4 separate regions of the Homo sapiens genome follow, and regions 1, 2 and 3 are each linked to region 4. The links are contacts of gene promoters, found by promoter capture Hi-C in blood cells and fetal thymus (Javierre and others, 2016). All regions are on one chromosome and are shown on one strand. The core of a region is centred on a gene start or on the middle of the fragment in contact, and the rest is flanking DNA. Distances in the headings are between cores, read along the strand shown.

Region 1 (2,700 bases), core at 90-2,589, 3.2 Mb after region 4:
AGGTAGCATTGGAGGGGTGGCTTGGAAGGTAGAATTTGGAGTGAAGAGATGGAAACAAGAATATTTGAGAGAGAACTGTGTGAATAAAAGCAGTGATGTGAAGGTGTAGTACAGGCATGGAAATTGTGAATACTAAAATTTGGCAAAACTCTAATGTATTGATTCTGAACTCTGCTTTGGGGTGCTGAAAGGCAGTGAAGCTATTGTAGTGGTTCCCCAAACTACGGGCCAACTACAAAAAGGAATGAAAAATGTCTTGAATGTATATGTACAACAATTCAAAACACATACAACCACTTTTTATTACAACATAAATCCATTAAAAATCATTACTGAATTCCCAATTTGTTATGTATTTTCTAAATCAGCAAATACCAAGGGTGTAACTACTATAGTGAGCTAGTCCAACAAATTTTTTGGTGTTAAAAAAGGAGTGCTGTATGTCAAAAAGGTTGGTGGGTTTTGGAGTTAGACAAACCTTGATCTTAAACTCTGTCACTATTAATTAGTTGTGTGGGACTGGGCAACTCTGAGTTTGGTCCTTCATCTCTAGAGCGGTGGTTATAAAACCAACCTTGCGTTTTTTGACAATTAGAGAAATATATGGCATGTTTTAGATGCTCAGCAAGTGGGAAGTATCACAAAACGAAAAGCTGAGGTCAAATCAGAGTCCACCTTGAACACCAAGCTAAGGAACTGGTACTTTTTCTTTGAGCACATAGTTACAGAAGGTTTTGTCTGAGTGACAGGAAAATCAATAAGTAAGTTAGAAGGTGATTGCGTTGGTCTAGGTGAGGCATTATGAGGCACTGGCATTGAATTTCTGGGATATTTCAGAGTATTGACTATAGGACTCCACATCTACTTGTATATGAGGAATGTGAGATTAAAAAAAAGGTCGCTAGTTTGATCTAACTGTGCTGTTAACAACAATAAAAAGTCAACAGAGATGTAAAGGTCAGTTTTGGACATTTTGAGTTTAAACTCCTACAATTATCGTGGCTGAAAAAGCAGCAAACATGATGTCTGTTGAAAACAAGGCTTTAGGAATTTTGCTCATTCTTTAAAAACCTACGAATTTTAAAAATCAAACTTTAAAAAACTTTTTGTTTTTTTTTTTAAAAAAACGGCAGCGTAATACAATATTTGGACACGCTATACTATGGGCTTTGAAGAACGCCTGTCCAGAACACCCAACAAGCTCCATTATGTCAAACGCTCCCGCGCCTCTGTGATGTCACCACGACGCGCTGGGCGCTCTGCGACTTGGCAGACGTCGTGCGTCATTACCAACGAGGCGCAGGGGTCAGGACGACTCTCGGCAGCGCCATTGCGCGCCCTCTAGTGGCAGCCGGTTTTGAGGCCGGCCTCCGGCTTTGAAGTTCCTCACCGCGTCTCCTTCCCTCTCCCCAAAGCCTGGATCACCGCCCAGCGTCAGGCGAGGGGCGACGTCTCGAGGTAAAACGGAGGAGGTGCGGGACGCGGAGACTGCGCGGGCCCGGTAGCCCTGGAGAGGCCGAGGCTCTAGGCCGCGAGGGGCGGGTGCAATGGCGGAGGAACAGGTGAACCGCAGCGCCGGCCTGGCCCCCGACTGTGAGGCCTCGGCGACTGCAGAAACTACGGTTTCCTCAGTGGGGACCTGTGAAGCCGCTGGCAAGTCACCAGAGCCCAAGGACTACGACAGCACCTGCGTGTTCTGCCGGATCGCGGGGCGGCAGGACCCGGGCACCGAACTCCTGCACTGCGAGGTGGGCGGCGACGCGCGGCCGGGGGTGGGTGAGGACCTGGCCGCCCCTCGGAGCTCCGGCAGGGAGGCCTCGCCGTTGTGGAGCGGGTGCAGAGGATCCCGATCGCTACTCAGCTCGCAGAGGCAGGGCCGCTCTGTGTGGATGGGGCTCGGGGAAGCTGGGGATACGCCCACTACGGGCCTTTCTGCAGGGTCCGGGTGCTGATGACAGACTCACTCCTAGGGGACTGACAGGCAGTGGCTCCAGCGGTATCTTTGCTGTTCCCAGGGGCAAAGAGTGAATGACAGGGCCGAATGCTTTGGCCTATGTTTGCAGGTACCCAGGTAGTTGGTACAAATAACATTTTGTGGCCTCTGCTTTTATTACAAGGATTCTTCTCCACCTTCAAGATACTGATTTTAAATCCTGCACACTCTAATACCGATACTGATGAGAAAACTAGTAGAAAATAGGTAATGATAATTGTGGAAAGCTGTTTGTTAGATTGGCAGAAAATAGGCTGGAGGGAGTGGGTCTGAGGTCAAACTATTATTGAATTGCCTCTGAATTCCACTGTCAGTTGGGATGCGTGGACATTTTCAGAGCATGAAGACTTTGCCCAGATATTTTTAAACGGATAATCTGGCACACACTTTATTCTGTTGGTTTTACTTGTCCATATAGAAACAACTTTTTGAGAGAATTAGCTCCAAAGATTGTGTCTTTTGTAGTAAACATTCCTTTATTTTTTAAAAAATAAATATAATTCCTTCTAAGCACCTTGTTTTGGAGGTTTTTGAGCAAGATAAGGGACAGTCTGTGTCCCGATTTTACAATCTAAAGGGCGGAATGTATACAGAGGAGGTAGCCAGTTACAATGCCTCGTGCTGTGGTCAGGTGATTTTACAGTATTTTGTAAGCTTGTGGGAGGAGCATCTAACCCAGCTCTGAAGAATTAGGGAAGGCTTTCCAG
Region 2 (2,715 bases), core at 21-2,520, 4.1 Mb before region 4:
TAGGAAGATGGAAAATATTATCAAGATGTCAACTCTTGGCCAGGCACAGTGGTTCACACCTGTAATCCAGCACTTTGGGAGCCCAAGGCAGATGTATCATCTGAGGTCAGGAGTTCGAGACCAGCCTGACCAACATGGTGAAACCCTGTCTCTACTAAAAAAAAAATACAAAAAAATTAGCGGGGGGGTTTGGTGGCACATGCCTGTAATCACAGCTACTTGGGAGGCTGAGGCAGGAGAATCACTTGAACCTGGGAGGCAGAGGTTGCTGTGAGCTGAGATCGCGCCATTGCACTCCAGCCTGGGCAACGAGGGCGAAACTCTGTTTCAAAAATGAAAAAAGATGTCAACTCTCATGATTTAAGCTATAAATTTGATATATGACAAAAAAATTCATAATGGTCTTGTGAACTAAGTTGATTCAAAGCACAAAGAAAAATCTGAGGGGGAAAAGTCTAATGAGGGAGGAACTAGCTCTACCAGATGCTGAAATATAAAGCTTTGATAACTGAAAGTGTATGCTAACTCATAAATAGACAAAACGGTGGAACTGAATGAAACACCGGGAAATAATTCCAAATCCATTTGGGAATTAAATATCTGATCAACATGCCACATTGCCCATAGGTCTGTTGACCTCAGCAGCATTGTCAGTCATGCAGTGTGGTCCTTCACCTCCTTCTCATTAGGAGGCTTGGAGCTAACCAGAGGTTGTGGGTTCAGGAGTAAGAAAGAACACTGGGCTTAGATGGCTAGACACCAGAGCACCAATCTTGCTCTACCACCTGTAACTTGGTGACCTTGTGTTGAGCTTTGGTTTCATTGTCTATAATATGAGGATAATGAAATCCATTGCCAAGCTTTATTGTGGGGATAAGTTTATATAATATATGAATCTACCTAACAAATATCAACTATTTAACAAAATAAACATATTCTAATTGAATAGCTTAACGGGCATCTTAACTCCAGGTTGACAGTTTCACAATTTGTCTGTCTGCAGACAGAAATTGCTTTTTAAAAATCTCAAATCCTTTTTTTTTTTTTTTTGCCATTCAACATGTAAATAAGATTTAGAAAAAAGAATTATTTTAAAGCTCAGATTTAGAGTCAATGATTTCCTTACAGAGGAAAGTCTTTATAAATAAGATCAAGTTGTTGAGTGGGTGGATGAAATCCAGCAAGAGAAGTTTCAGTTACATAGCACAGGAAAGGATCTTCTTTTTTTTTTTTTTTTTTGAGACGGAGTCTCACTCTGTTGCCCGGGCTGGAGTGCAGTGGCATGGTCTCAGCTCACTGCAAGCTCCGCCTCCCGGGTTCACGCCATTCTCCTGCCTCAGCCTCCCGAGTAGCTGAGACTACAGGCGCCTGCCACCACGCCCAGCTAATTTTTTTGTGTTTTTAGTAGAGATGGGGTTTCACCATGTTAGCCAGGATGGTCTCGATCTCCTGACCTCGTGATCCGCCCGCCTCGGCCTCCCAAAGTGTTGGGATTACAGGCGTGAGCCACCGCGCCCAGCCCAGGAAAGGATCTTTTAACTTCTGTGTTTTAAAGGAAGATGTGGAGCTTTTTAAAGATGACGCTGCACTAAGCATGAGCTGATGGAAACCTGTCCTGTGTGTAGAGAGCACCCAAGGTTCGGGTGTTGTGCCAAAATGGAGACCTTACTCTTGGACAAAAGAAGCTTGAACAATTTATGGTGAGGGTAGAAGTACAAACAAAATTCCATGTAATTTTTTAATTTCCACCTTTGGTTATATTGTACAATTCAGTGCCTAAGGGATCAAAGGATGTTGAAGAGAGTTTTGGGAAATCACATATACTCTTGGGAAACTTCATGACAAAGGGCAATCTTGGGCAGTGTTGGAAAGGGACGAAGTGGATCACTTGGTGGAAAGTGGCAGGCAGAAGAGTATGTGGATGCCTCAGAAGTGGATGTGGTTAAAGGATGGAACAATGAAGGGTTTGATGGCTGCAATAAGGCGTACAAGACAATGAGATGAGTAATAAGCTGACAGAATGCTTGCTGAATAATCCTGATTTAAATTTGTCAGGCAAGTGATGAAAAGAATGTTTGCTGCTGGCCAGGATGGTCTGACCGAGAAAGCTAGACACAAGAGACAAATAAGGCTATTTCCATTGTCTAACTAACAATGCTTAGGTCCAAGCTGGTCTGAACCTGTGAGAACAGAGACAGTGCACAGCTTTGAAAATCCTGTAGGACAAGGAATCATGGAATTGGTGATTTTTCTGGACAAAATGATAGAGGAAAAGGTTTAACAAGGTTAGGATCATAGAAAGCTGACAGGAGGATGGAGCCATTGTCAACAAAGAGAACTTCAGACCTGCTAAGCGTTTGTAAGGAGCACAAGGAGAGAAAATAAACCCAATTTTGGCTGCATTTGGCTGTGGATGACAACCAGCATAACAACCCAATCTCCATCAGAAACGGAATCAAGACTTTAAATATAATAAATTCAGAATTCTTAGCAAAAAGAATATTGTGCTGTTTCTTTTGTTATGGGGCTAAAATTGTTCCCATTTATGATAGGCACAAAATATACTTATGAAAGTCATGCTTATCACTGACCTACATCTTCTGTAAGGAAAATGTATGTTACAGACACCAAGAAGAAGATCTCACCTCCCACCTTCTCTGTGATAGAGAAAATAGCAGAGGAGCACATTTTTGACAATCTTGCTAACAAGGGGAA
Region 3 (2,700 bases), core at 18-2,517, 3.5 Mb before region 4:
TCAAAACAGAAAAAAAAGTTACGATAATTTGTTTCAGCTTTGTCAAAAATGATCACTTATACAATGTACCACTAGTAAAGGATCTCCTAAAGTAACCTCTGTAGTATATATTAACTTTTCCTATCTTCTTCCCTCAAGGGAAAAGCTGACACTAATTGGTTAGTTTCCTACATTTCAAAAGTTGCTGACATATTTCTCAAAATGGGTTCCTGATCCCATGGGATTTCTATGAGTTAAAGTTAGAAAAGACGAAAATGATGTGGTCAAAATGCCCTGAACAAAGCACTGGGAGGGGTTTATCCAGCAATTATAAAGAGGAACAGTCATATTGTTAACCAATTCCACCAGCTGATCACTTCTGGAAATGATTTACCACATTAAAGCTAACTGTAAGACATTGTGTGAGTGTGTGTGTACACATGCATAGAATAACTATAAGCTTCAATTTAAAAGTCACATATAAAATCAACTTGTTAACTCAGATTTACGACTTACACAAATATTTGAAACATCAAAAGGCTACCAGCTTTTAATTTTGTAGTATTAAGCCATTACCCAGCTGAGTGGCGATGAGGATAAAGTCATTTAATTTCTCTAGACCCAGTTCTCATGAGCTGGCAGGACAAGGAAGTCACTTCTAAAAGTTAACTACTAACAAGGACAGAATTGATCACCTCTCTTCACAGGCTCCTTAGGTTTCTTTTGTAGTCTTTCATTAACTTAATTAGGGTTCTAAAGCCTGACATTCCACGTAGAAGTAAAATGGGCCCAAATTTCAAATGCAGTAGTGAAACCCTCACAAAAAAAGATAAACTGAAAGCAAGCCAAAGATGTTTTCTTCCTGAATACGTATATTTGCTCCTGGTGAAAGGTAGAGCTGACACGCTGTGTGAAAGGAAACAAAGGACCAAAATTTCATAATTGCAACCCATTATTTTAACCCAGAAAATATTAAATTGGGTATAAGGCATTAAAGAAATAGTATTACTTCCCCTTGACTCCATGCTTATAAGAAAAGATTCTTTGATTTGTACTTTCTTCTTAATTGGCATCAGGGCTCATTAATTAGGCCAGGTCATTTATTGAGTATCTGCTACACTATGAAAAGATTCTAAAGGACTAAAAGGGAAGTATACAGGATGCTGTCTCATTTACTATCTCATTGATAATGTATGGAAACATAAGATACTGCCTGTTTACATACTCAGTAAATGTTTGTGAATATAGAAGAGTAAGAAAACTAATTAAATGTTGTATACAACTCTATTGTTGTTTCTAACAAATTAAGTTTAATGTCCTGATCTAATCAAGCACGCTGAAGAAAGAAATACGTTGGAATTTCCCTAGTATGCATAGACTTCATATCTTGCATATTTATTGCTAGAACTACTCTTAGCAAATACTTCCATTTGCTGAAGTTTTAAACACATAATCTTTAAATTTTTATATTAGACACATCAAAAGTCTTTGAAAATTACATGATTTTTCCAGACAGATCTCAGGAAAACTTTGGGCTTTCATTGCCCTATTTCACTGAAGCCTACAAGTTCAAGTCCCACTTATGGCCTCCTTCTATGGGTTCTTACATAAAATTTCCGTAGTTTGTAGGATGTGATGCTGGCCCAGCTGAATGAACCAGGGCCTGGTGCCCAACTCAAAGGCAGATTGCTGAGAGCTAGCCATGAGCCTCCAACGTGGGGCGCCCTGGTGTGTAGTTCTCACTAATGGATGGGATGAGTCAACCCAACCATCCACTCTACCTAGGGAAGTGTAACTGGGAAACATTCAGAGAGAACCTAGAGGCCAGAGAGTGACACAGAAACAGAGAAGTACAAATACACAGGAGAAAGGGCTGTGAAGCAGTAAAAGCCATGAGAAAGAAGACAAGAAAGGCAAGGAGAAAAAAGTTAAGAGGAGGCTGAGGTACAGATGATTTTGCCACTTGGATGGTTCCCCAGTGGAACTGTGTTAGGCCTGTACAGCAGCTATAGAACTATCAACAATGCTGTGGAGTCCTGAATGTTGGTGAATCATCTTCCCTTTTCCTCTTTGCCTGCTGAGACTGTTTGTTTACTTCCCTATGTGTACTTGTAGAAAAGCTTCTCATTTACTGAGGAGTAAGGCGTAAAAGCGGGTCACGGGCGAACGCATATGAGAAACTGGGTCCATATCTGAGCTCTGCCATCGTCAGTGTGACTCTAAGCAAGGCAATTAATCTCTCTGAGCCCACTTTCTGCACACACAAAATGTGAATAAAAACACCTCACTGGTTGTGGTGATGATTAAATAAAACAAGGCATGTAAAGAGTTTAACATGTTGCCCGACACACATTAAGTGCTCAATGCATTTTAGGCATTATAATTACTTTTATTAAAAACCTAAGAATGTCTGTGATCTTTGCAATCTAAAAGAGCTTCATAATTTTTCCTAGTATAACACATAAATAGGAGGGACAAATATATGTGAAACCAGGCAAACTTACATTGTACACAAGCTCTTTATCAATATATACATTTAAAAATATACACAACTATTTGGTATCCAAAAGATGGAGGAAGAAAGGAAGAGTAGAAAGGTCCTCTCCAGGTGTAAGGCAATGTGGGGTAATCTTTAGCTATGCAGGTTCATACACTAGCTTTCATAAAATCTTAGTTGTGCCAAGGTACTGCTGTGTAGTGGGGGTTTGTTCGAGGGATTTG
Region 4 (2,700 bases), core at 127-2,626:
CATTTTCTTCTGCAAAGGAATTCCACGCCCTATAAATTTAAATTATTAGCTTGTCATCTCCAAGAGATCAGCATCCTCATAAACGGTGAGAGAAGGAACACAGAATACAGGATCCAGCACAGTTTCGGGATTCTGGCTTCTTTGCCAGACTTATCTTTGCTTACTTCTTTGTATAGACTTACTTCTTTGCCAGACTTATCTTTGCTTACTTCTTTGTATAGACTTACTTCTTTGCCAGAAGTATATTCAAAAAAGTTCCGTGGAAGCATCAAATCAACCACCTCTACTTATGATTTCCATGCATCTCTGGAATGCATAAAGCATGATTTCAGAACATGTTCTAATTCTAAGACCCTTCTCTTCCCGGCAGTTTAAAAAAAACAAAAAACAAAACGTCGTATCTTTGAGCATTGGTTTTCAAACATCACAATCACTTTAACATGACCTGAAATGCTTGTGAAAACACAAACTGCTGGGCTCCAGCAGGTTTCTGACTCAACAGGTCTAGGGTGGTGCCTGGGAATTTGCATTTCTAACTAGAGTTCCCAGGTGGTGCTAATGTTCCCAGTTCAGAGACTTCAATTCGAGATCCACTGCAGTATCCATAACTTTTGCTGATTTCCTTCAAATCATGATACTTCAGGGCTCTCTGCATCACCTCTACTGAGGAGCCCTACCCATTAAAGCTGGGGTAGGTTGGCCCAAGAATGGAACCGGGATCGTTGAGATTTCAGCACCCCAGCATTTTTTAGTGACTGAAATAATGAAAATTCTGATCAGGCTCCTGCTTGCTTGCACATTTTAACCACTCGCTTTTTGCCCAATATTCTCCTTGTTTCCACAATATAATTATAAACTGCTGAGGTACTGCTTCCTCGTCAAGAACAAAGAGGTTAACTTCAGGGTCACAAAAATGTTTGCAGAAGGGATGAATACCTCCAAGGGCTTTGCAACCAGCTGCGGATGCCTGGACGTCTAATTGCTCAAAGGTGTTATCTGAGACTGAAGAAACAGACTTTTCCCCTGGATTCTTTGAAAATCCCCCTCTCTTATTCTCTAGCAGAATAAAAACTCCCTGCTTTTTCCTTTTTACACACGGATTTGAGAGATCTTGTTCTCCCTCCTTCTGGCTTTTACTAAATTGAATGTCTTTCTCTATCCCCAAGCACCAGTATGTCAGTGTTTGACATCAACTGCACCACTGATACACGAGTCGGAATTTGAGCTTCTACAAGTACATTCCTTCCTAGGCCAAACACTGACGCTAAGAAATACGAGAACAGATCATCGCTAAACAGCAGCTGAAGGTCAGGCGAACTGACTCGCTGCGGAATCTGCCTTTGCACGTGATCAGTCGGACGTCTACACCCGCAGCCGTCTTCTGTCTCCGCCTCACCCTCAGGCCTGACGGTCCGAGTGGAGCTGCGGGACAGCCCGAACCTCCAGGTCAGCCCCGCGGCCCTCCATGGCGCTGGTGCGCGCACTCGTCTGCTGCCTGCTGACTGCCTGGCACTGCCGCTCCGGCCTCGGGCTGCCCGTGGCGCCCGCAGGCGGCAGGAATCCTCCTCCGGCGATAGGTGAGTTGTCCGCGACCCTTCTCTTCCCAGCCGGCAAAGAGCGCGGAGCGGCGGCGCCTGCGCACAGCAGGAGAAAGTGCGTGGGGGCAGCTGCCCCCGGCAGAGGCTCGGGCTAGCGGGGCCCCTGACGCGTCCGGCGTTGACCACGGCTGGTGGGCGCGGGGAGGGCGACCAAGGGACTACAGCGTTAGGGCGTCCAGCCGGGAGGCCGGGGCTGGGCGGGGGAAATGCCCTCGCCGGTGGGGGCGCTCCAAGGGCGCGTCGGCCGGATTTCGCCAGCCTGGCTTTTGTTTACATCCTGCATCTCAGTTGTTTTGTTCCTTGGGGAAGGAAGGAAAAGCTGCGGGACTCAAGGGAAGAGGAAGCTGGGAGTCCGATGTCCAGCACAGCAAGAGGCCCCTAATCGGTCCTGAATGGAGGGGGACTGCAGTTTCCCCACCAGCTCAGGGAAGTAAATTTCAGCGTGACTCACACTATCTTCTGTCTTGCTCGACCGAGATCAGTGGCTTTTTCTGCCACTCACCCAGCCAGAGCGCGAAAGCACCCTCGGGTAGACTCACCCCTTAGTCTACCGTGGAACTCACGGGGACTTCATTTCACCTGGATGTCCACTAGGTTTCCTGCGGGCGGGACCCATTTTATTCACTCCCAGCACTTAACACAGTGCCCGTTACAGTAGTGATTCTCTTAAGTGTGCCCTGGACCGGTGGCAGCAGCCGCCGCACTTAAAATTGTTAGCATTGCAAATTTCCAGCCCATCCCAGACCTACTGAATCTGAAACGCCGGCGTTGGGCTTCCACAGTATGCTGTTTAACCCACCCTCCGCATGATTCCTTTCGGCTAAGTTTGAGACTCACTGGTCCAGAATAGATACATTTTGGTGGGAGATTGTACAATGCCATCCGAGCCTCCAGTTCCAAAAATCAAGGTGCCCTCACCTCCTCAACTCCCTTTAAAAATAATTGCACTGTTAAGAGGAAAAACAAAATTAGAGAAGTGGGGTTCTGTTTTCTTTTAGGGGAGAGTTGTCCCTGAGACTCGGTAGCAGCACCTAGTGCTGAAACCTCTTTCGCTCCCTCTGTGCTTTCTCAGGACTTGGGAGCGCTCTAGGGCAAATATCTT

Evidence for each region. The method cuts DNA at HindIII sites, captures the fragments that hold promoters and counts their contacts. A CHiCAGO score of 5 or more calls a contact.
Region 1: a contact is called between the fragment with the promoter of HINT3 here and the fragment with the promoter of SMPDL3A in region 4, in 1 of 17 cell types (M0 macrophages). The highest score is 7.3, in M0 macrophages.
Region 2: a fragment that was not itself captured here is called in contact with the fragment with the promoter of SMPDL3A in region 4 in 1 of 17 cell types (M0 macrophages); the score reaches 7.3 in M0 macrophages.
Region 3: a contact is called between a fragment that was not itself captured here and the fragment with the promoter of SMPDL3A in region 4, in 1 of 17 cell types (M0 macrophages). The highest score is 6.7, in M0 macrophages.

What each region holds. Positions count from the first base shown.
Region 1 is chr6:125,955,431-125,958,130 of GRCh38, forward strand. HINT3 (histidine triad nucleotide binding protein 3) reads left to right here and starts at 1,340. Exons shown (of 5, transcript NM_138571.5): 1 at 1,340-1,748. The coding sequence starts at 1,548. RefSeq lists enhancers at 1,353-1,452, 2,513-2,562 and a silencer at 1,623-1,842. The HindIII fragment of the contact is 9,214 bases long and covers 1-2,645 here.
Region 2 is chr6:118,711,153-118,713,867 of GRCh38, forward strand. No RefSeq gene overlaps it. Among named protein-coding and RNA genes, the nearest start is that of CEP85L, 61 kb to the left of the region's middle. The HindIII fragment of the contact is 825 bases long and covers 859-1,683 here.
Region 3 is chr6:119,308,849-119,311,548 of GRCh38, forward strand. The region is part of intron 2 of MAN1A1 (mannosidase alpha class 1A member 1); the gene reads right to left. Among named protein-coding and RNA genes, the nearest start is that of MAN1A1, 40 kb to the right of the region's middle. The HindIII fragment of the contact is 1,660 bases long and covers 438-2,097 here.
Region 4 is chr6:122,787,882-122,790,581 of GRCh38, forward strand. SMPDL3A (sphingomyelin phosphodiesterase acid like 3A) reads left to right here and starts at 1,377. Exons shown (of 8, transcript NM_006714.5): 1 at 1,377-1,577. The coding sequence starts at 1,466. RefSeq lists enhancers at 1,187-1,688, 1,689-2,188 and a silencer at 1,403-1,697. The HindIII fragment of the contact is 3,428 bases long and covers 1-2,700 here.